Regions from separate parts of the Homo sapiens genome. Here region 2 is linked to region 1. Evidence: promoter capture Hi-C in human tissues and cell types (Jung and others, 2019). All regions are on one chromosome and are shown on one strand. Each heading gives the region's core, a stretch centred on a gene start or on the middle of the fragment in contact. The rest is flanking DNA. Distances are from core to core; before and after follow the strand shown. Region 1 holds the start of U2AF1 (U2 small nuclear RNA auxiliary factor 1). Region 2 overlaps PKNOX1 (PBX/knotted 1 homeobox 1).

The links. Contacts are between HindIII fragments. The study calls those that stand out against the background at their distance.
Region 2: a contact is called between a fragment that was not itself captured here and the fragment with the promoter of U2AF1 in region 1, in 5 of the 25 tissues and cell types used here (H1 embryonic stem cells, bladder, mesenchymal stem cells and 2 more).

The regions. Positions count from the first base shown.
Region 1 is chr21:43,102,776-43,110,713 of GRCh38, reverse strand. U2AF1 (U2 small nuclear RNA auxiliary factor 1) reads left to right here and starts at 3,144. Exons shown (of 8, transcript NM_006758.3): 1 at 3,144-3,263; 2 at 6,312-6,399. The coding sequence starts at 3,220. LOC101928369 (a long non-coding RNA gene) reads right to left here and starts at 3,024. Exons shown (of 5, transcript XR_937770.3): 1 at 2,619-3,024; 2 at 1,198-1,372. The HindIII fragment of the contact is 4,947 bases long and covers 1,655-6,601 here.
Region 2 is chr21:43,029,109-43,037,046 of GRCh38, reverse strand. It overlaps PKNOX1 (PBX/knotted 1 homeobox 1), which reads right to left. Exons shown (of 11, transcript NM_004571.5): 11 at 3,116-7,157. The coding sequence ends at 6,946. Among named protein-coding and RNA genes, the nearest start is that of CBS, 43 kb to the left of the region's middle. The HindIII fragment of the contact is 5,777 bases long and covers 1,819-7,595 here.

The DNA of each region.
Region 1 (7,938 bases), core at 1,895-4,394:
AACTCTACTAAAAATACAAAAAATTAGCAGGGCATGGTGGCAGGCGCCTCTAATCCCAGCTACTTAGAAGGCTGAGGCAGAGAACTGCCTGAACTGAGGAGGCAGAGGTTGCAGTGAGCCGAGATCATGCCACTGCACTCCAGCCTGGGCGACAGAGCGAGACTCTGTCTCAAAAAAAAAAAAAAAAAAAAAAAAAAGAAGAAGAAGAAGAATGTTTAGATTTGTCAGTTGAACCAAGTTTCAGAATATGGCCAGTTTTAAAGATGACACTTTCTCCTTGACCAAATTTCGAATGAGAGAAAAGGCTGCAAACTGTAAAAAGACAAGCAAAACCTCAGACAGAAGTGAAAATCACAAATCTGCAGTCAACAGAATCTCTAGAGAATAAAAATGGAAACTCCTACCTTTCAGTGGAGCTTCAGTTCTAACCCTATCAAATTATTAGTGTGTAAGTCTCAATCTTCAACTAAGCTGGGAGGATTCAGATCCCAAGACTGGCCTTACCAGAGACCCCTGCCAGCCCCAGTGAGGTCGAGTAAACAACAGTCGTTTGTGCTGGTACCAAGGCTCCAACTATTGATGCCACTACTTAGTGGCAATCCCTGAAGGCCTGCTTCAGGTCCTATCTGGGTTGCCAAAATGTCAACCTCAAATAATGAAATTCAGGAAATATGATTAAGTATAGAGTTTATTTGAGCCCAAAGCTTGAGGATGGCTCCCTGGGCACATGCCCCTAGGTTGCCCTGAACATATGTTCCCATTAGCAGCAGTCACAGTGGGGTTTTAAGGAAAAGGAAGAGGCAGTCCCTAAGTTGTTAGCAAGAATTTGCATTAAAATAACAGAAGGTGCTGATTGGCTATGCATCGTTCTTAGCATCACTAATTCCATGTGAACAAGAAGATAATGGGTGAGGCAGCCTGTCAGGAGCAAAAATTCCATCAAACAATTGCCCTGGACAGTTGCTTCTATGGTGGAAGAGGCGCTGAATGAAGTCCCACACTCCTGCCTCTCTGGGCCTGATCATTCTGCACACCTCACAGAGCTCAGACTACCCTATTTTTCTTTTCTCAGGAAAAATGGGTGGATGGTACTGGTGGCCCTGCCTGGTCTGATCATCTACCCTGGTTCTAGTAACCAGATTAATTCCTTGTAATAGAGCTGTGGATTTCAGTTCAGTTCCCACGCACAGACCTTACCTCTGCTTTCTCCGACCACTTCTCCCCCACCCCAGGTACTTCACAGCTGAGAGCCTCTTGCCAGCTTCCAACTCTCCAGCAGTCTTTGTTCCCAGACCGTGTCCTGAGGCTGCACTTTCTGGACATGCCCACCTGCTGGACTGGCATCTGTCTTGTCACTTCTCTGGCCTCACCTCTGCGAAAGGAACACAAAAGTCAGGACCCCAGTTCACTCTGTCAAAAGGAAAAGAATGAGCTGAAAGCTGAGTCATGTAAGCAGCTGCCTTTCCTTTCGTTCCTAAGCAGACGGCTACAGATAGAAGGTTCAACATCCGCTTCTCTTATGTAAAGTGCTGATTTGCTGAGGAGTGAGCTGTACACAGTCGACTGTTCCCAACCTGCTTCTTTTCTCTTGCAACGTGTGGATTACCACACTGTTCCGCTTTCCCCTCCAGCCCACTTTTCCCCTTTAAATACTGAAGCCCTCAAAGTCATCTTTGGAGAAAGGCACAGACCACAGACTGTTTCTGTGATACCGTGTTTTTTTTCCTCCCAGGCATTGTCCTTAACCTTGGCAAAATAAACTTCTAAATTGATTGAGCCCTGTCTCAAGATACTTTTTGGTTTAAACCTCTGAGGCCCTACTGTTTCTAATACAGGTTTCCAGTTTGCTCATCTTTCCCAGGTAGGAAGATGCTCTGTTGCCAAGAGAAATGCAATTCTAACACGCAAATCCGCCCAAACACTAGAGCTCAGCATTCAGCTCTAGCCGAGCTAAGAGGATCCCATGGTCCTGCCCCACAGTCTGGGGCTCATCTTGTGGAGGAGGTAAGTAAAATAGGCCCTGTCTCTCTGACTTCTACCTAATCAGAGTTGATAGTTGCGTTGGAAATTAGGTAAATCGCAGGTGAGTTGATGAATGTGGGAAACCAGATGAAAATGGCTGCTTGATGGGGTTAAAACGCAGGAGAGGAATAGAACCCTTCCAACGGAATGGTTCCAGCCTTGTGACATGAGGAGACTGAAAGGGTATCCCAGAGGCAGGTCACTGGCCTTCCAGCTCCACCTGTGGGTGGCCTTGGCCAGGCAACTGCAAGAGTGCAGGGCCCCGGGGAGGTCGCACCTGGCAAGCGCTGAGGGAGGGTAAAGCGGAGAGGGGTGTGAGAAGAGAAAAACAACACAGAGCGTCCGAGCTATGTGAGGCGTGCGAGGTTAATCCGGCCCGGAGAGACAGGTCTATGCGGCTTCAGCGGTCCCCACCCATGCCTGGCAATTGTTTAAAGGCACTATTGCTCCGGACCCGCTGCCTTCACCCATGAACTTCCTTTCCTGGAATTATGATATAAAGAACAACGTACAGCCAATTAATAGCTTGTTATTTTCATGTAAATTCTTGGTGAGCTATTTAAGAACTGCCCCCCTCTTAAGCTTTATAAACCCACTTGTCACTGTTGCAAATCCTATGTTCAGGGCAACTTGAAGCTATGCTCCCGGGTTGCAATCTTCAAACTTGGCCCAAATAACCTCTCTACTTATATCAAGTTTGCCTCAGCTTTTTTTTTCTTCTAGGTCGACGGTTCCCGCCCCGCAAGGGTGCAGGGAAGGGGACGCCCGCACTTCCTAGTGCTCCCTTAGCTGGGGTCGAGCTGAGCGCCCCCCACCGAGCCCCAGGCGGCTCTGTGGAGAAGCCCCTCGGCCCCGGGTTCGGTCTGCACTGCCAGCCCCCAGTCCCCGGCGCGCAGGATCCAGCAGGGCCAGCGCCGGGCGGGCGAGAAGGCGAGAGAGCTAGGGCCGGGCGGGGAGGGCACCGGCAGGGGGCGCGGGTTCCCAGGACCGAAAAGGCGGAGCCTCCCACGCGCACTACGTGCTCCCTACGCGCATGCGTCCCGCCCACGCGCAGGCAGCACCTCGCCTGACTGGGTAGCGCTGCCACGTCGGGGCGGGGAAGAGCGTCGTCGCGTCCGGGTGACGTCTCCCGAGGGCGTCGGCAGGGTCGGCGGCGTCGGCAGCAGTGTCGACGGCAGCGGCGGCGGCGGGTGGGAAATGGCGGAGTATCTGGCCTCCATCTTCGGCACCGAGAAAGACAAGTGAGTGGGAGCCCCCCGCCGGGGGTTGGGCGCGATCGGGGCGCAGGGTGGTTGAGGCGGTGGGAGGGCGACCGGGGAGGCCCAGGCGGGCCGGCGCGGCGGTGGCGGGGGAGGGGCGCGCGGCGGGAAGGAGCGGTGGCCCTTCCGGCCCCTTGCGCGCCCTCCGGAGCCGCCGCCTCGTGGGCCGCGCGGCGGAAAACTGGAGCGGGCAGAATGAATGGGGTCTCTTTTCGGGGCGCCGCGGCCGAGCTTTCTCCGGCCTTGGGGTCCGGACTGGCTGATCGCCCGACGTCCGGGCCTCCGAGTCGCCGACTCCCGGAAGCCGCCTCGAGCCGCGCTGAAAGTTGCCTGGAGCATCCGGGCCTTTTGGACGTGGACACGTTTGTTCCAACTTTCGGCTGTGAATGTCCTGTCGAGCAAGCTCTGGTACCAGCCTCGCCAGTATTCAGTCGCTTATCTAACTTAGGGTCCTAAGCGTTGGTGTTTTATCCACTTAGCCAGCCTCTTGCCTGTTTAAGCGACCGCTGGGCCGGCAGTAAGGAGATATGACGAGAAAAAGTATGGTGGAGACTACTGGATTAACTATCTAACCACAAGAGACGTGATCCGCTCTTAACATACAGGTGCTCCTGGATTTACCATGGGATTGCGTTCCGATAAACCCATCATGAATCGAAAATGCCTTTAATACCCCGATAAACCCATCATCTAAGTTGAAAATTTGTAAGTCGGTGACTGTTCTTGAAGACACAATTCTGATATAAGGAAAAAGATGTTTTGATTTTTTCCTTAAGGTTGCATGCCTTCCCTAATCAATCGTTAGGTTAAAAGCAAAACATTTAATTTCAGCTTTAATTGCCACCTTGGCACGTACTAATTTCCAGTGAGTTGGCTGTAGTTTAGACTAAATGGAATGTTTTCAGACGTTTGAAGGATAATTCTTACTTTGAAAACCTAAAGACTCAGCATCTGGCTTAATCTACTCTTTAGTTATCTTGGCATTCTTCAGTGCCATACAAAGTTAACATGACTTTATGTTTTCAATGATAAACCCCTAAGTTTGTCATAGATGTTTTTAATGCCACTTTTTTCAAACGCTATTTAAAATGTTTCTCTTTTCCAGGATGGAGTCTATCTTGTAAAATGTCCTCTTCACACATGGTAGAATCTCCTGTGTTGTTTGGATGAGGAGGCTATATTTCTAGCAAAATTTTAAGCCAAAATCTACCAGTTATAGTCACTCCAGAAACATTTAGTGGGGGTCAACTATAGGTCAGTTTCTGGAGACTTAAACATGGGTAAAATTTGGATATTATCCTTAAGGAACTCACGGTATGATCTTGGCGAATGAATAGACCAGCTCTATCGGAACAAGAGACTCTTCTGAGTTTAGGGTGAAGAACTAACACATGTAGGATCGGGGCATCATTAATTTCTCCTTTTCATATTTGCATGTGGCATGACTTCTGTCTTGTAAAAGTCTATCTCCCTATATTTCTGCTATAAGCAACCACATTTCAATCTATTGGGCTATACTATAAAGGTCATGGTTTTAATTCAGAAAAGTTGATTATTTAATCTAGGTTACTTGTGTTTTCTTTTCAGGGAGACGTGGGGTTTTAGCTTCCAGGGAACAGGATCAACTCCTGAAAAATGAAGCTGATGGTTCATATTAACTTTAATTATTATTTAAGCTAAGAATAAAATATAGATCTCTACCAATTAAAAAATGTTTAGCTTATTATATGTTTGAAGTTATAGATGTTTTCTAGATTCAGGGATATCCTAATAGCTTGTCTGTAGTTTAATTGTGTGGAATAATTGGATATTAATTGTTGAGGCCCAGGGCTTGCCCATTCTGAGGTAGTTTTTAAATAAGCTTTCTTTATTTTTAGATGACTTCCTAAAGATATGCTATTGTCTAATCAAGTTAAATAATCTCAAGACCTGTAAGTTTGCAAATATATATAATCACTTTCCTCTCCTGATAAATTTGGACTTTCCCATCTTTATTGCTACCTGATAATAAATCAGTGGCTAGTCAGTCTTCATGGTCCATTAGATTTCACTGAGGTTGAGGCCCTTCAATCTTAACTCTGGATTGACTGTTTAAAACATAATGGCACTTGGTTAAAAAAAAATTGAATTTTGAACAAAGTCTGTCTGGTAAGATGTCCTAATTCATCAGAGATCGGCTTCCCTCCCTGACATTGCTGGCACACAGGCATGATTGCTGGTTCCATTGGATATGGATCTGGATTGTCAGCGTATTTGAACAGTATTAAGGGAGGGTTTTGCAGTAGAGACAGAAGGTGACGTAAGGTGGTTCCTAAGGTGGGTTCGGTCAGTCCCCTAATAGTTTGTTTTCAGTGTATTGAGACCAGGAGAATTGATTTACTTCAGACCTATTTTTTGAAACTCCCTGTTGGTCTGGTGTCATGCGTTTAGAGAGACTCTGAACTTCGTTTTCTGTTTTCCTTAGATAATGATAGCACTTCATGAGCACCATATGTGAAGCACACATACGTTCTGTCTGACTCTCAGAACAGTGCCACATTGGCATTGTCATCATTTACAGATGACATCTGAGAGCTAGGGTGACTTGCCCAAGCCCAAGCAGCTGGTAGCAGAGTTGGGATCTTAACCCTCACCACACCGGTGTTTTCAAGAGAGAACTTGGTCGTGGAGAACTGGAGAACAGATACTGCCTAAGTTACATTTAGTTTTAGACTAATTTAATACTCCATTTAAGAAACAAACAGAACAGCTGTGCAGTTAGGAAAGTGGAGGGGATTTGAATGAGGAGGAGGCGGGTTAGAGTTAGAACCGTCTTTGCTGAACAAGTAGTGTGTTTGCAGAAAGGGAAGTTGAAGTTACGTTGTCCTAAAATACAGCAAGGAAGAGGAGGTGCTTAATACCACGGAAAAAAGTCTGTGTCATGTTTCTGTGAGGTTAAAAGTAATTTGATAGTGTATGTCATGCTGCTGACATATTCCATGTGTTTGATATCTTCCCAGCAAAATAATCAGCTCTCATTTTCCCTTACAGAGTCAACTGTTCATTTTATTTCAAAATTGGAGCATGTCGTCATGGAGACAGGTGCTCTCGGTTGCACAATAAACCGACGTTTAGCCAGGTTTGTTTGCCTTTTTTTCATGTAAATTATAAAAACTTCATGTTCTTTTCAAAGACAGTTAATTTCTACATATTAAGCAAGTCATTTTTTCTCTCGTAGTTGTATTTTCCATTTGTGTTCATAAGTGTGTTCTTTTATTTAAATAATAGTGAGGCAGGTGATCGACTTCCAGTGGAAGGTCTGAGACCACCACTCCTTGTTTTTATCATTAGAGAAACTTTAAAAATCAGTTTTTGATGTTTGTGTGTTGGCTGTGCCTGATATTTGCTGCCCTGCCATCTTCCCTACCCCCTCTGATAGACATGGGTCCAGAGGGGGTGGCCGTGCCAGCCTTGGGTTAGCCTCCTCCAGGCACCAGTGGACACGGAGTGGGCTTTCTGCTCTTTGCTGTCTCCAGACAGTAGAGGTGATGGAGCCACCTTCCAAGTTAGCGTGATTGTCACCAGGCCCATCATGCTGCTCGAGCTTCTCTGGCTGCGTCCTCACTTTCACATCCCTAGCTGAGGAAACAGCGAGTCGCATCACGTCATGGAAACATGAAAAATTAAGCTGAAAGGTAGAAAATGGGCCGTAAATTGCTCTTAGCGGGTCTGTTTGGTTAATTGAGGAGTGCCTGTTATCTTGGGCTTAGATCCGCTCTGAGTTCAGTTCAATCAAAAGTTGTGAGTTTTGATAGTTTTATTTTTGGTTAGTTGAAGAAAAGGCAAAGGTTGGTACACTATAAAGGATCACTTACGGATTAAAGGGAGAAGGCACCTCTAATCGGAGCAGAAAACTTGTGCCCACGTTGATGAGAACATTTGAAATTTGAAAATCGATGCCCAAGTCTTTCCAGATGGAGGGCTGGGGAACTCCTTCCAACCCACCCTTGAAGTCTAAATGTGCAGCCTCTGAGCTGTTGAGTAGCTATTATGCGTGGTCCCTGGGAGCTGCCAGGCTCTGCCTTTGAGCTCACATCTGTCTGTATACGTTTTCCTGTAAGCATTTAAGAAAATCTACCACTTTGTGTAAGTGAGCTGGGAGAAGGAAACATGGGTTTTTTCCGGTTGAAGCCCATGGACGACCCCACAGCACACAGTGTTTTTAGAAGGGAAGAGGATGATGGCTTTTCCCTCCATTATGCTAATTACCAAGTGGTTAGTATAATAGCAGTCTGTCTTTTGATAGCTCTGAACATGAGTTTCTTTTTACAAATTTCAAAATCTTGGAGAACTAGCTTTACATTTTCTGTGTATTGCAATTGTTTTTTCTTTAATGTTTTGATTTATGAACCGAATCTCCCCTAACTAAACCAGTGGCCATGGATTGTGGTATAACCAAGCATCTTAAGTGACCACCCAGTTCTTTGATTTTGGGGGGTGTCCCAAGTGTTGGGCTGAGAGAAATCAACTGTTCCCTATTCTAAAAGTTTTCTTTAATCTGGCTGGAGGCACTTTCTTTATGTTTTTCTGGATCATAGATTACCTGAGAATGTGAAATGTGAAGTTAATTTAGGCATTCCAGGTCAGTGCTGGGGAGAGCCCATTGGAGCTCGATGGG
Region 2 (7,938 bases), core at 3,458-5,957, 75 kb after region 1:
GTGCTGCTTGGTCATCTGGTCTCCTTTCAATGAACTATTAATATCCGCTGTCATGGTTCTAGAGACTTCTAGTTGGTTACCTGCTGAGTTGCAGGAATCCCCCTAACACTGGCTCCTTGCCGGCTTTATCCATTAAAAAGAAGGAACGAGGAAAGTGCTCCTCTCAGTCACTACCTGTTAATGGTCCTCTGTGTCCTCCAATGCACAGAAAAACTGAATTTTGATCTGGCCAAATCACCCATATTTTGCCTTAGGATTTATGCCTTTGAGGTCTCAAAATAAGGGCTTCTTCCCCAAGGGAACAAAGATAAGCTCCCGTATCATCTTCCAGTGGCTCACGGCCATGCCCAGAACCCATGGCGCCTGCCTCTGCTCTCCCCTCTCCTCTTCACTGCTGTCTCCCAGGCCACGAGTCCCTCCCGGCTGCCCAGCCCCATGTCCTCCTGCCATCTACCCTCCCACAGCAACCCACACTCTCACGGCTTCTGCTGCGGGAAGCGCTCCTTCCTGGGATTCCCTGGCACAGTTCAGATGAGTATTTCTCCACCTTCGCTGGCTGCTCTCCTCTAGCTCCACGGTCTCTATGACCCAGGTCTACACTAACACACAAGACAATGTAAACTGTTAAGGGTTTCACAACTTATTTCTGACATGGATTGCTGTGTTAAGATAATATGAAAGAAAACTCAGTGAATATAAAGTAAAATATTTTAAAGTATAACTGATTTTTCTACAGGCCATTTTCTAAAAATGTCTAAGCAACTAAAGCTGTCATTAAAATGTTTCTTTTCTTTTCTTTTTTTTTTTTTTTGAGACGGAGTCTCGCTCTGTCGCCCAGGCTGGAGTGCAGTGGTGTGAACTTGGCTCACCACAACTTCGGTCTCACGGGTTCGTGGAATTCTCCTGCCTCAGCCTCCCGGGTAGCCGGGACTACAGGCATGCACCACCATGCCCGGCTAATTTTTTATATTTTTAGTAGAGACGGGGTTTCACCATACTGGCCAGGCTGGTCTGGAACTCCTGACCTTGTGATCTACTGGCCTCGGCCTCCCAAAGTGCTGGGATTACAGGTGTGAGCCACTGCGCCCAGCCTAAAATGTTTCTTTTGAAAGATGCTGGAATAAAAGAATTCCTTATTTATTTATTTATTTATTTATTTATTTATTTATTTTGGGGCAGAGCCTTGCTCTGTCGCCCAGACTGCAGTGAAGTGGCGTGGTCTCGGCTCACTACAATCTCCACCTCCTGGGTTCAAGCGATTCTCCTGCCTGAGCTTCCCGAGTAGCTGGGATTTCAGGCACCCACCACCATGCCCGACTAATTTTTTTATTTTTAGTAGAGACCAGGTTTCTCCGTGATGGCCAGGCTGGTCTCAAACTCCTGACCTCAGGTGATCTGCCTGCCTCGGCCTCCCAAAGTGCTGGGACTAAAGGTGTGAGCCACCACGCCCGGTCTAGAATTCCTGATTTATATTAAAACCATTCTTGCTTTTTACAGGGTTGAAGTCCTTAGCTGCTTAGACATTTTTAGAAAATGGCCTGTAGAAAAATCAGTTATATTTTAAAATATTTTACTTTATATTCACTGAGTTTTCTTTCATATTATCTTAACACAGCAATCCATGTCAGAAATAAGTTGTGAAGCCCTTAACAGTTTACATTGTCTTGTGTGTTAGTGTAGACCTGGGTTGTAGAGACTGTGGAGCTAGAGGAGAGCAGCCAGTGAAGGTGGAGAAATACTCATCTGAACTGTGCCAGGGAATCCCAGGAAGGAGCGCTTCCCGCAGCAGAAGCCATGAGAGTGTGGGTTGCTGTGGGAGATAAAGAATGGAAACATCTGTATAAGATAATACCTTCTAAATACGATTTTTATACAGAATACTTACAAATTATCCAAGTAAGCAACACTAACTAGTCCTTTATAGACTACAAAAGCCAGACCTGAGGAGGCCTGGCAGAGAGGAGCCTGCAGGTGCCAGACCCGACCTGGGCTGCATGGTGAAGACGTGGGATTGGGAAAAGCTGGCCCCAGGCCCAGATGCCACCCCGGGCATTCACTGCTTTCAGTCACATGTGCTTAGATGCTATATAGTCACTAGTCTCGCAGATTTTATAAACAATGATAGTTAAACAACTATCCTAGGTCTTAGTGAAGGTAAAAATATCCCACTGTACAAGGGCAAAAATAATTTGTACTAAGAATTTTTTTTTTTTTTGAGACAGAGTCTCGCTCTATGCCCCAGGCTGGAGTGCAGTGGGACAATCTCAGCTCACTGCAACCTCCGCCTCCCGGATTCAAGAGATTCTCCTGCCTCAGCTTCCCGAGTAGCTGGGATTACAGGTGCCTGCCACCATGCCTGGCTAATTTTTGTGTTTGTAGTAGAGATGGGGTTTCACCATGTTGGCCAGACTGATCTCAAACTCCTGACCTCAGGTGATCCGCCCACCCTGGCCTCACAAAGTGCTGGGATTACAGGCGGGAGCCACCGCGCCCGGCCTTGTACTAAGAATTTCTTCTGAGAGTATACATAATAGAATGGCATGAAAGCTAAAAACAGTAGACATTGTTTATGACATTCATATAATTCAAAAACTGTGAAACACTAAATATTTAATCCAAATATTTCTTATTTTCTGGATTTGCTAGACCATTACTCACTTCCTCATCAGTCTTTAGATGGAGAGATAGAATCTTATTAGTCATAAACATCATTGTAAGGCTAGAATAAACCTTATAAGCCAGTTCTTCCTTTTCATAAATGAAGCCCTGGAAGCCTAGAGAGACTGGGGCTGCCTGAGGCCCCACATTAATAAAGTTCATGCCCGTCCTCTCACCTCTGAACTAAGGGAGCTGGAAATACAACACAGTGCCTCAGTTTTCTGTAACCAATGAAAACATTGCTTGAAACAATACAGTCAGCTGTCACTACTAATTACCAACAAGACTCATAATTTTGCATGTGGTTTTTAAAATACTAAGTCTGCTGACTTTAGCCTCTAAGCATGAACAGTTGTTGGGAGTTATAACACTCTGGACAACAAAGATTAAAAACCCTCTGAAATTGTTTTAATGTACCTTTTAAATCTTCAGGAACTTTCTTGTCATGAAAATTTATAATATGAACTATGAAAGGGATTATGTTAGCTTACTGATGAATCATTATCTTCTTGTAACTATCAAAATAATTAGATTTGTGGAAAACTATAATAAAAAACATAAAAGCTACCTGTTTCCATTTTCTGCCTGAACAGCCAATGAATGAACAAAGTAAGGAATTTAAGAAAAGATTCTTGGACATGTAAATGGACCTGACTAGTCCGATGCAGTGTGGTCCTAGTTTCTCAATATGCAGGGGTGACTACAGACCCTACATGTCACCAGAAAACATGAAAACATTCTCAATGTTTTACATAAAATGGAGAAGCAGCTTTTGGTGACATGAGCTTTATAAAATAAAACATCCATAAAGCAAGTTTCTATTTTTAATTTTTTTGCTTTGATAAATCAATTGCTTCACAAAAATCCTTTTTAAAGACAACAATCCAAGAAAACATATTGTTACAGTATTCACATTTCAAAGATTGTCAGTTTCAAAGACCGAATATAACTAGAACGAAAGATTGCTGAGTTCTTTCTGTCTCTAAGTGCCAGGAATGGGCCTTCACAAGGGGCAGAACCCCCTCTGGACACCCTGGAGTTTGTCTCAATGAAAAGTGCCCACTGCTACCTCACACAGGCAGGAGATGGATCACTCTCAGGTCACACAGACACAACTCCCAGAGCCCTTAGCCGTGAGGGTTTCTTTTGCATGCTCGATAAACACTTCCACTCATCTTACTATCTGGAATCAAAGCGCAAAGGCCAAGCTAGTCCCTCGGTGGGAGCGAGCTGGAACCCAGCACAGCCAGCCCTGCCACTCCTGCTCCACAGGTGCAGGGCAGGAATAACAGCAACATGCTCAATTTGGGTCTCAAGACACATTCAAAAGGAGCCTTCATAGGGAAAAACTCAACAAGAATAAAACTGGAACCGAATCTGATCATTTAAAACGAAATCTTAGAGGGGGTCACACTTTTACAGATTCTCTCCACTGTCCAAGGGCTGGAGAACAGGTGTTTTAAGGTGCCAACTGACCTCAAACATGCTGGGCAGTGATTTTGCAAACTGAAACAGCTTGCCATGTAGAAGCTAGTTAAAAGCACCCATTGCAGAGAGGTTAAAGGAAACTCAGGCTATGTCCATAAGCACCCTTTCTCTAAGTGATCTTTATCCTATTCCTCTGAATTTAGTAAGAATTTAGGAAAGTTGAAGAAAGTTTGCAGCTGGAGAGAATGCACACTGTATCATTCAGCATGGGTGTTTAACTCTCAGGCCAGAGCTTCCCAGTGCCACCGAGGTTCAGGCAGTGCTCTCTTTTTATAGATGGGGGTCTCACTGTGTTGCCCAAGATGGAGTGCAGTGGCTATTCACAGGTGCAAGCATAGTGCACTGCAGCCTCAAACTCCTGGCACATGCCATCCTCTGCCTCAGACTCCCGAGTAGCTGGAACTAGAGGCACGCCCTACTGCGCCGGGCAGGGGCAGCACTCTTAAATTCAATCCACTGCTTAGTGAATGTGATTTCTAGTGGGGGAAAGAAACGGTGACCTATACATGAGTCTACATTCTGTGAATGGCTTCCACTAATCTACACTAAAGAGCAAGCAGCCGAAGAGACGGAGGGTGGTGAGGGAAGGAGGAAGGGCTGGCTGGCTTTCATGGGTGCTTATTTTAAGGAGTCCAACAAAGTTGGAACTTAGGTTAAAAATGATCTTATAGACTTGACTTAAAATATGAGAAGACAGTTCACAAATGAGGAACGCAATGGTGGCTTTAAGATGTCATTCTCGGCCGGGCGCGGTGGCTCACACCTGTAATCCCAGCACTTTGGGAGGCTGAGGCAGGCAGATCACCTGAGGTCGGGAGTTCGAGACCAGCCCGACCAACATGGAGAAACCCATCTCTACTAAAAATACAAAATTAGCCGGGTGTGGTGGCGCATGCCTGTAATCCCAGCTACTCAGGAGGCTAAGGAAGGAGAATTGCTTGAACATAAGAGGTGGAGGTTGCAGTGAGCTGAGATTGCACCATTGCCCTCCAGCCTGGGCAACAAGAGCAAAACTCTGTCTCAAAAAAAAAATGTCATTCTCTCCCCAAAAGACTTGATAACCAAGTCTTTCAGTAAAGCTCCTGAAAGATTTTAAAACAAATTTCTGTGTGTTTCCCACTGACTTCTTAACCTCAATTAATATATTCTTTTGGGAAAAATCAATTCCAGAAAAAACTCTTCACTAGCTTAAAATGTCCCTTGGCTTACAACCAATCATTACTGTTGACTCTCAAGAACTGAAGACATTCCCGACCCTGTAAACAAATGAACTTCAGCCATACCATTTCAGATGATATGAAGACATTCTGTATGAAACACCGTGGCCTGTTTTCTGAGAAAAAGCACCACTCCTAAGTAAACAATGAAAACAAATCAAAACCAAAGAAAACAGAACCCAGCCCACTCTCTCGGTTCATCTTGTTACCAGGAAACAGAAGTCCTACAGTTATTCCAAATCTCACGTGGTCAAGTGAGCAGGAGGGCTCTGAAAAGTCGAAAGCAACAACGTACAAGAGAACACTGACACCAGGAGACCAGCCACAAACGCAAACGTAGGAGCCAACCCGTGGGGGCTGCCGAGGTGCCCTCGCCAGACCAGCTCGCTGCTGGGACTCCAGGGATGTCCGCTAGTTAAGTAATAAAGTCTGAATATCTGCTGTTTGCCCTAGCTCTGAGCCAATGGGGTAGAGCACATTTTATATTAGTTTATAATAAACATTCTGTGCATAACATATTTTGAAGTTAAAACTTTTAAAACAATACACAGCTAACATGGTAAAGCGACCATGCAACTGTGGTCAGATTTAAATTAGACTGGAGTATGTACGGTGAGAGCTCCTAACGGGTCACTGGCTACCATTTCACCTCACTTACCTGAAGTCCTGTTTAGCAGATATCTTTCGATATATGTTTAGATCAAGTGTAAAATGCAATCTGAGCATTACATATCAACAAAAATTTGCAGATATCAAAATTTCATTAAATAGCTGTTTCTTTTATAGTAGTAAATGTTCATCACTACCCGGGGAGAGCAAAGAACCATGGAACGGTAGCTAACTTTGGGCAGGTTCATTAAATTTGGTCAATTCAGAACATTCCAAATTGAAATATTAATAGCAAGCATGTATTGTTTCTTCTCTAGAAATTTTATCCTCAATATAGTCATCATCCAATTCATAACGAATTTATAAAAATAGCTTTTTTATCCAATAATTCCAGCAAGGTAAAAATAGGAGTTTCTTTTTCTATATAGCAAATGAAACAGGCTCACTGAACATGAGGGGACTTAGGCTTGCTAAGCTTGCCGTCCATCCACTCACGACGAAACCACACTCAGTCTAGGCGTGTGCCGTTGTCACCGCACACTGGCAGTTTCGGGTGCAGCAGCTTCTTTCAAATCCATGGGCCACACAAATCAACCAGCCCACTGAGATCTGCTGGAACCACAGAACTAAGTGACAACCGCATCACGGTTTAGAAAATGGCAGCGCTATTCCTTAATCTAATTAGGGATTCAAGGTGGGGAGGGAGTGGTGTGTCATTCCTCACAATCTAGCGTTAAACCTTTAAAGAATTTCTTTAAAAATCCACACACACGCACACACGCACACACACACACACACACACACACACACACACTTGAAAGAAGTCGCTGCACCGGCAAAGACGCGCTTTAAGCTTACTATGAAATACAAAAGTGCACTCTTCTATATCTACATATAAAACATATTAGAAATAAAACTGTGTAAAATGTTTGCTGTGCAAACTCCAAAAAGTCAGGTGCGTCTGCTCCTGCCCCTACTGCAGGGAGTCACTGTTCTCCAAGACCAGCCCGCTGATGTGGGCAGGGGCCAGGGCACCCGCATCCTCCTCTGTGCTGTCCACAGACTCGTCCTCGCTCTGCCCTGCCATCATGACCTGCTGCACCGCCAGGGTGGCCCCGTCCGAGGACAGAGACTGAAGGCTGTCCACGTTCATGTTCACGGGCGTGGTGATGGTGACAACAGCTCCTGCGGCAGGATGAAGGTGTGTCATTATTTAAATTAGTACTCACAGAAAAACACTTTATTACTCAATTGGGTGCTGTTTGCTCGTTTGACCTAAAGTTAAAATAAAACACCTATATATGTTTAGGGAATGTTCAACAGGGATTTAAGAAACTGTTTCTGGGCCGGGCGCGGTAGCTCATGCCTGTAATCCCAGCACTTTGGGAGGCTGAGGCAGGCGGATAACGAGGTCAGGAGATCAAGACCATCCTGGTGAACACGGTGAAACCCCGTCTCTACTAAAAATACAAAAAATTAGCCGGGCGTGGTGGCAGGCACCTGTAGCTACTCCGAGCTACTCGGGAGGCTGAGGCAGGAGAATGGCGGGAACCTGGTAGGCAGAGGTTTCAGTGAGCCGAGATTGCGCCATTGCACTCCAGCCTGGGCAACAGAGTGAGACTCTGTCTCAAAAAAAAAAAAAAAAAAAAACAAAGCAAACAAATAAAAAAAAATAAAAACACATGCACACAAAACCATCCAAAATATGAAGACCTCATGCGAACAGAAAGATGCCTATAAAACACATCAGAATGGCTGCCTACGTCAGGGGATGGAGAGCAGAGGCCACAGGGAACAAGCAAAAACAAGAGAAGGGCATGGGGGATGAAGAGAAAGAAGCCACGTGGTGAGAACGGGGTAAGTCCCTCCTCCACACCCGGCGTCGGAGGGAAAAGGAGAGCAAACACAGAAGCAAAGGAGAAGATCCATGGGCATGACTGTGTCTTTGAGACAGAATTAATGATTT